Regions from separate parts of the Homo sapiens genome. Here region 2 is linked to region 1. Evidence: promoter capture Hi-C in human tissues and cell types (Jung and others, 2019). All regions are on one chromosome and are shown on one strand. Each heading gives the region's core, a stretch centred on a gene start or on the middle of the fragment in contact. The rest is flanking DNA. Distances are from core to core; before and after follow the strand shown. Region 1 holds the start of MFAP1 (microfibril associated protein 1). Region 2 overlaps CTDSPL2 (CTD small phosphatase like 2).

Region 1 (3,740 bases), core at 345-2,844:
CAAAGTGCTGGGATTACAGGCGTGAGCCACCGCGCCGGGCCCTAATTTTTATTTTTGCAGAGATTGGCGGGGGTGGGGGGTGGTCTCGCTATGTTGCCCAAGCTGGTCTTGAACTCCTGGCCTCAAGCGATCCTCCTGCCTCAGCCTCCCGAAGTGCTGAGATTACAGGTGTAAGCCACTGTGCTCCACAAATTCTTATGTTCTTATAACTTACTTTGGGGAGCAATTGGCAACAGGTACTAAATAAAGCTAGTATTGGCTAGAGAATGACAATTGCAGAACTTTCTTTTTTTTTTTTTGAGAGAGTGTCTCACACTGTGGCCCAGGCTGGAGTGCAATGGTGCGATCTCTGCTCACTGCGACCTCCACCTCCCGGGTTCAAGCAATTCTCCTGCCTCAGATTCCCAAGTAGCTGGGATTACAGGTACCCACCACCATGCATGGCTAATTTTTTGTATTTTTAGTAGAGACGGGGTTTCGCCATGATCGCCAGGCTGTCTTGAACTCCTGACCTCAGGTGTTCAGCCCGCCTCAGCCTCCCAAAGTGCTGGGTTTATGGGCATAAGACACCGTGCCTGGCCGCAGCACTTTTTTGAACAAGGGGACAACCACCTGCCTCTCAGTAGGGAATAAAGTGTGGATTACAGTTTATTTTATACAATGGAATTCATAAGCTGTTAAGATGAATGAATTAGATGTATAGGGATCCAAAGATAATTCTCAAAAGCCATGTTGAGACTAGATACGGCGGCATCTACTCGGGAGGCTGAGGCAGGAGGACAGCCTGAGCCCCAGGAATTCGAGTCCAGCCTGGGCAGCATAAGCAGACTTCTATGGACAGCAAAAGAGGGACTGTATCCCGCACAATGCCCTGCCAACAGGCATTCTCTATCTATCTATCTAGTCTGATATTATATACATATTCTGATATATACTTAAGTTCCTAATTATTAGATTAATAATATACTTAAGTTCCTAAGTAATTACACTAATAATACATAAATTCTTGTAATTATATGTAATTAGTGATATTATATTCTAATCATAATATATATTAGACTAATACATATATTCTAGCATATATATATTAGACATATATATTCTGATATATACTTAAGTTCCTAATGTTTTTATATGTGTAATATATATTATATATATGTAACATTAGTCTAAGGAATTTGTGGAGGCTAACAGAAGAGAGGTGCTTGCTGAATACGAGAGCAGGCCACAGGAACAAGATCGGATGCAAGTGGGTGGGGGTGGAAAGATCGAAGAATCTGGCAGCCAGATCTCAAGAGCTGGCGGGGTTGGAGTGGTCTGTCCGGGAGAGGTCTGGAGGTTGCTGGGGCCGGAAGGGGTTAAAATTCGACTGGGAAGAGGGTGTTAGCACCGTACCTTTCTCATTGCGAACTGGGACGGCCCCAGCCGTAGACTGAATGGGCGGTTGCTTCATGAGAGCGCTTGGGACCGACATGTTGATGGCAGCGACGGTGATTCCCGAAACTTGACTAATTCCAAACAGTGAACACCAGCAACGTCAACGAAGAGAAGAAATTCCTTCCACCTGAGTCCGCGAACACAGCTGCGCGACTGATAGAGAAACTACTTACGGCTGAGCTAGATAAACCGGAAATACGTGACGAGAGGATTGTGGGATGGTGGACGACGTTTGGGCGCCCACAGCTAGGAAGTCGAGTCGGTTTCTGCGCATGCTCATTGGCTGCCCGCATGTCCTCTACGTCGCAGAATTTGGAAGCAGCTTTTGGCGGGAAATTTTGCTTCCTTTGGGCTTTGCTGTTAGGACTCTGCGGTGAGGAAGGTTCGAATGAAAGATTTTACGTGTTAGCTTGGTTTGAAGCCAAGAACGGTATAGTGAATAAGAAACTCAGGCGACAGTGAGTTACTGTTTGAATGGCTTGTTGAAAGCTCAGAAGAAGTAGAGTTTGATGGAATAAAAATCTTGCCAGTAGTATCCGATTAGCTTAGTTCATAAGGCCAGGGTGGGCTGTGGTGCGGTATTTGGTTTCACAGGGCAGGTGGTGCTGATTTAGGCCAGTGACCGAAAAAAAAAAAAAAAAAACTCCCGAGGTGCCTGGGACATTGCCCACCTGAAATCCCAAAACTCCACTTTTTTAGGCTTTCAGGTTTTTCCAGTTTCTGGAAACTACCTATTAAAATACATTCCTGGCTAGAAAATGTTTGTATTTAAATATCTAAGTAATTATTATTCTTTTGAGACTGTCTTTTTCTGTCACCCAGGCTGGAGTGCAGTGGCTCGATCTCAGCTCACTGCAGTCTCCACCTCCCGGGTTTAAGCAATTCTCGTGCCTCAGCCTTCTGATTAGCTGGGATTACAGGCGCCTGCCACCACTCCCTGCTGATTTTTGTATTTTTAGTAGAGACGAGGTTTCACCATGTTGGCCAGGCTTAAGTGATCCGCCCACTCCGGCCTCCCACAGTGCTGAGTGTTGGCGTGGGCCACCACTCCCGGCTAATTTTTGTATTTTTAGTAGAGGCAGGGTTTCGCCATGTTGCCCAGGCTGGTCTTGAACTCCTGACCTCAGATGATCCACCTACCTCGGCCTCCCCAAAGTGCTGGGATTACAGAGGTGAGCCACCGCACCCGGCCTATTTAAGAACTCTTTAAGGACTTACAGGATAATAACAGAAGCAGCTCCAATTTACAAGCTGAGTCGTGTTAAAAAATATATATAATATTGGCTAATTGGAAAGTCAGGACACATTTCACAGTAGAAAGGACTTTATAACTGCGGGGGAGACAAGGGACAGTAGGAACAAAGTCTTAAAGTCCAGAAACAGTATGTTTTATACAGGACACCATGAAAAGTTTGGTTTTATCAGTAATTTTTGAGTCATGAGGGGCCTTGAAGTTGCTATTAATATGATTAACCCAAATTACTTCACCTGTGTTCTACAATTGGGCCTTGAGTGGGAGAAGAAATGAAACTGGACAAATCTCAGGCAAGGAACAGTGTGGGACCCAACTAAGCAACCAAGGAAACAGTTTTGGGCTAGAAGGAACCTTAAAGAGAATAGCCAGAATCTTATTTTATTATTTATAGAAGAGGGTCTTGCTCTGTCGCTCAGGCTGGAGTTCCGCGCAATCACGGCTCACTGTGGCCTCATCCTTCTAGGTTCAAGCCATTTTCCCACCCCTGCCTTCTGAGTAGCTGGGACTACAGACGTACAACACCACGCTGGGCTAATTTTTGTATTTTTTATAGAGATGGGGTCTCACTATGTTGCCCAGGCTGGTTTGGAACTCCTGGGCCCAAGTGATCCACTCCTCTCGGCCTCTCAAAGTGTTGGGATTACAGGCGTTAGCCACCGCTCCCGGCCTGTTAGTGTTTTTCAAAGCGACATCCCAGTACCACCAGAATCAAAATCACCAGTCAAAGGTAAAAATGTCAGTTCAGCCCCAGGACATCCCTAAAGAATTTGAGTCTAGGGCTTTAAGACAGCATTTTTTTTTTTTTGAGACGGAGTCTCACTCTTGTTGCCCAGACTGGAGTGCAATGGCGCGATCTCAGCTCACTGCAACCTCTGCCCCCTGGGTTCAAGCAATTCTGCCTCAGCCTCCTGAGTAACTGGGATTACAGGCACGCGCCACCAAGCCCGGCTAATTTTTGTAATTTTAGTAGAGACGGGGTTTCGTCATGTTGGCCAGGCTGGTCTCAAACTCCTGACCTCAGGTGATCCGCCGCCTCAGCCTCCCAAAG
Region 2 (3,740 bases), core at 393-2,892, 620 kb after region 1:
CCACCTCCCGGGTTCACACCATTCTCCTGCCTCAGCCTCCCGAGTAGCTGGGACTACAGGCGCACACCTGGCTAATTTTTTTTATATTTTTAGTAGAGACGACAGGGTTTCACCGTGTTAGCTAGGATGGTCTCGATCTCCAGACCTTGTGATCCGCCCGCCTCGGCCTCCCAGAGTGCTGGGATTACAGGTGTGAGCCACCCCGCCCGGCTGTAGTTTTTCATATTATTTGTATAATAGGTTAGGTTCCAGATTTTTTTTTTTCTTTTTGAGACAGAGTCTCACTCCGGCTGTTGCCCTGTCTGCAGTGCAGTGACGCAGTCACAGCTTACTGCAGCTTCGACTTCCCAGGCTCAGGTGATCCTCCCACCTCAGCCTCCCAAGTAGTTGGGACTATAGGCATGCACCATCACACCTAGCAAATTTTTTTGTATTTTTAGTAGATACAGGGTTTCATCATGTTGCCCAGGCTGGTCTCGAACTCCTGGGCTCAAGTGGTCTACCTGACTTGGCCTCCCAAAGTGCTGGCATTACAGGTGTGAGCCACTGTACCTGGCCTAGGTTCTAGATTTTTGAATTCAGTTATATTATGGGTTAACTATGTACATAGGAGCTGCCCTGGAACTCTACTCTGTATTTGTAACATTGTTTCTATCAGAAGTTTAATTTTGAGCTCATACCAGCCAATTTGAAAACACAGCTTTTTTTTTGCTTTTTTTTTTTTGAGATGGAGTCTCGCACTGTCGCCTGGGCTGGAGTGCAGTGGCACGATCTTGGCTTACTGCAGCTTCCGTCTTCCAGGTTCAAGCTGTTCTCCTGCCTCAGCCTCCCGAGTAGCTGGGATTACAGGCGCCCACCACCATGCCCAGCTAATTTTTTGTATTTTTAGTAGAGACAGGGTTTCACTTTGTTGGCCAGGCTGGTCTCGAATGCCTGACTTCATGATCCACCTGCCTCGGCCTGTCAAACTGCTGGGATTACAGGCGTGAGCCACTGTGCCTGGCCTTTTTTTTTTTTTTTTTCTCGCTTTGTCACCCAGACTGGAGTGCAGTGGCGCGATCTAGGCTCACTGCAGCCTCCACCTCCCGGGTGCAAGCGATTCTTCTGCCTCAGCCTCCCAAGTAGCTGGGACTACAGGAGCCCACCACCACGCCTGGTTAATTTTTGTATTTTTAGTGGAGACAGGGTTTCACCATATTGACCAGGCAGTTCTCGAACTCCTGACCTCGTGATCCACCCACCTCGACCTCCCAAAGTGCTGGGATTACAGGTATGAACCACCATGCCCTGCCATAAACTTACAGCTTTTACAGGTTAATTTTATCTTAAGGTTTTGTTCAGCCAGGGGTTCAGCTGAAAAATTACCCATTCCAATGGACCATTCAGACAAAAGGCAGAAGTAAAAAACAAACCTGGCTGGGTGCGGTGGCTCACGCCTGTAATCCCAGCACTTTGGGAGGCCAAGACAGGCAGATCACTTGAGGTCAGGTGTTCGAAACCGCCCTGGCCAACATGGCAAAACCCCGTCTCTACTAAAAATAGAAAACAAGTAGCCGGGTGTGGTGGCATGCGCCTGTAATCCCAGCTACTTGGGAGGCCAAGGCAGGAGAACTGCTTAAACCTGGGAGGTAGAGGTTGCAGTGAGCTGAGATAGAACCACTGCACTCCAGCCTGGGTGACAGAGCAAGGCTCTATCTCAAACAATCAAACAAACAAACAAACAAAAAACCTTAGAGAAAAATGGGAAATTGCTGGCTCAGAAGAGGGAACAGGCAAAAAAAAAAAAGAGAGAAAGAGAAAGGGAAATTGGAATCTTGGGGAACTTTTTTTTTTTTTTTTTTTGAGACGGAGTCTCAGTCTGTTGCCCAGGCTGGAGTGCAGTGGTGTGATCTCAGCTCACTGCAACCTCTGCTCTCGGATTCAAGTGATTCTCCTGCCTCAGCCTCCCAAGTTGCTGGAATTACAGGTGCCTGCCACTATGCCCAGCTAATTTTTGTATTTTTAGTAGAGACAGAGTTTCACCATGTTGGCCAGGCTGGTCTCGAACTCCAGACCTCGTGAGCCACTGCACCCAGCCTGGTAACTTTTTAATCAGTTAAAATGTTTTGTTGGTTATAAATATATTATTTTCACATTGCAAGTTATTTATATTGAAATTATGTGGAAATTTTTACTTAAAACACTTCTGCTGTCTTCTCCCCTTATACTTTTTCTTTCATAAAATGGAAATAACAGACACTACTTTATGTGGTTGAGAAGGTTAAGTGAAATAACATGAGAAAGCATTTATCACAGTGCCTTGCACATAGGAACCTTTTCATGTTCAGGTAAATATAGTATTTTAGAACTTTTTTGGAAAAGAATAGATTGAGAATTGGTTTTCTTTTTTTATTTTTCCAGCAACTGGTATTTATTATCAAAGTTATGTTTGATGTCAGCAAGTTGCCACAACTACAAAAAAATTTGCATATTACAATCTCAATGCAAACGTTCAAATAGAACCCCAGTCCTTAAAAAGTAAAAAAGTAATTCAGATTTCATCAAAAAGCAACAGAATTTTTAAAACATCTTTATATATCCAGCCAACAAGTTAAAATAGTTAACAAGAAAAAAATACAAAATATTGATGTTTAAAAAAGGCATATTTCTATCGATTTGCCCATCAATCTCTTGGCCACTCGGCTTCGTGCCAGTCATCATCTGACAGGCTCTCAGCCACCTCTGGCAACTCAAGCTTAACCAAACCACATCCCTTGGACTTCACATTCTTCATCTTGATGTTGGGTTATAGCACATGGCCGTATTTGTCAATTTGATCATGTAAAATCAAATGGGAGATTTCTCACAAATACCTGGTAGGCTTTCCTGGCCACCGCCAGGAGCATGGCCTCCAGCCTCACCAAAGGACCCTGCCAAACTTCCTCCAGAGTTTAAGTGGGCGCAGTCAAAGCTGACATGGCCACCACCATCCATGGCTAGGCCCATACACCCAGTCTCAGCACCCAGTGTCTGGCCCATGACGGGACCCATGCACTCAAGGCTGTTAATGCCCATCCTCTCCAGACTGTTGGCACCCGTCCACCCCAGTTCCATCCGGATGTTCCAGGTTGTTGGCACCTATGTGCTCCAGGCCAGTGGCCATGTGATCCATCATGGGGCTCATGTGCTCCAGGCCAGCCCCCATACCTGCAGGAACCATGCACTCCACACCAGAGCCCATGTGCTCAATGGTTTGGTCCACATGGTCAATGGGAGCAGCTGTGCACTTGAGGCTGAAGCCCATGCCGGCACCCATGTGCTCCAGGCCGGAGCCACTGCGCTCCGTGACCTTGCCTGTGTGCTGGATGCTAGAGGCCATTTGGTCAAGGCCCAGCAGGCCCATGCGCTCCCTGTGGGAGCCTTTGTGCTCCACAAAGCCCATGCGGTCCATGACCAGACCCATGTGCTGCATCTTGGAACCCACACGATCCACACCATGGCCCAGGCCTGGACTCATGCATTCCATGCTGGCACCCCCAGTGTAGTCAGCGCTTGGGCCTCATCCTCTCGATTTTGGGGATGCTGCCTCCACCTTCACTTCCTCTCTGCTTTGTAGTGATCTTCCCTATCCTAAGTGTATTACTAAGATTTCCTTTATTCTGCCCATGTTCATCCCAGAGCCAAATTGACCCACATTTTCCATACCGCCACCATGGGGGTCCCTCCTCCATTTCTCCCATTTTATTCTAAATCCATGCCCT

What was found. The method cuts DNA at HindIII sites, captures the fragments that hold promoters and counts their contacts. A contact is called where the count stands out against the background at its distance.
Region 2: a fragment that was not itself captured here is called in contact with the fragment with the promoter of MFAP1 in region 1 in 1 of the 25 tissues and cell types used here (lymphoblastoid cells).

What each region holds. Positions count from the first base shown.
Region 1 is chr15:43,823,096-43,826,835 of GRCh38, forward strand. It overlaps MFAP1 (microfibril associated protein 1), which reads right to left and starts at 1,595. Exons shown (of 9, transcript NM_005926.3): 1 at 1,396-1,595. The coding sequence starts at 1,474. RefSeq lists enhancers at 1,399-1,658, 1,411-2,042. The HindIII fragment of the contact is 35,410 bases long and covers 1-3,740 here.
Region 2 is chr15:44,444,932-44,448,671 of GRCh38, forward strand. The region is part of intron 1 of CTDSPL2 (CTD small phosphatase like 2); the gene reads left to right. It also overlaps the pseudogene HNRNPMP1. Among named protein-coding and RNA genes, the nearest start is that of CTDSPL2, 19 kb to the left of the region's middle. The HindIII fragment of the contact is 6,367 bases long and covers 1-3,740 here.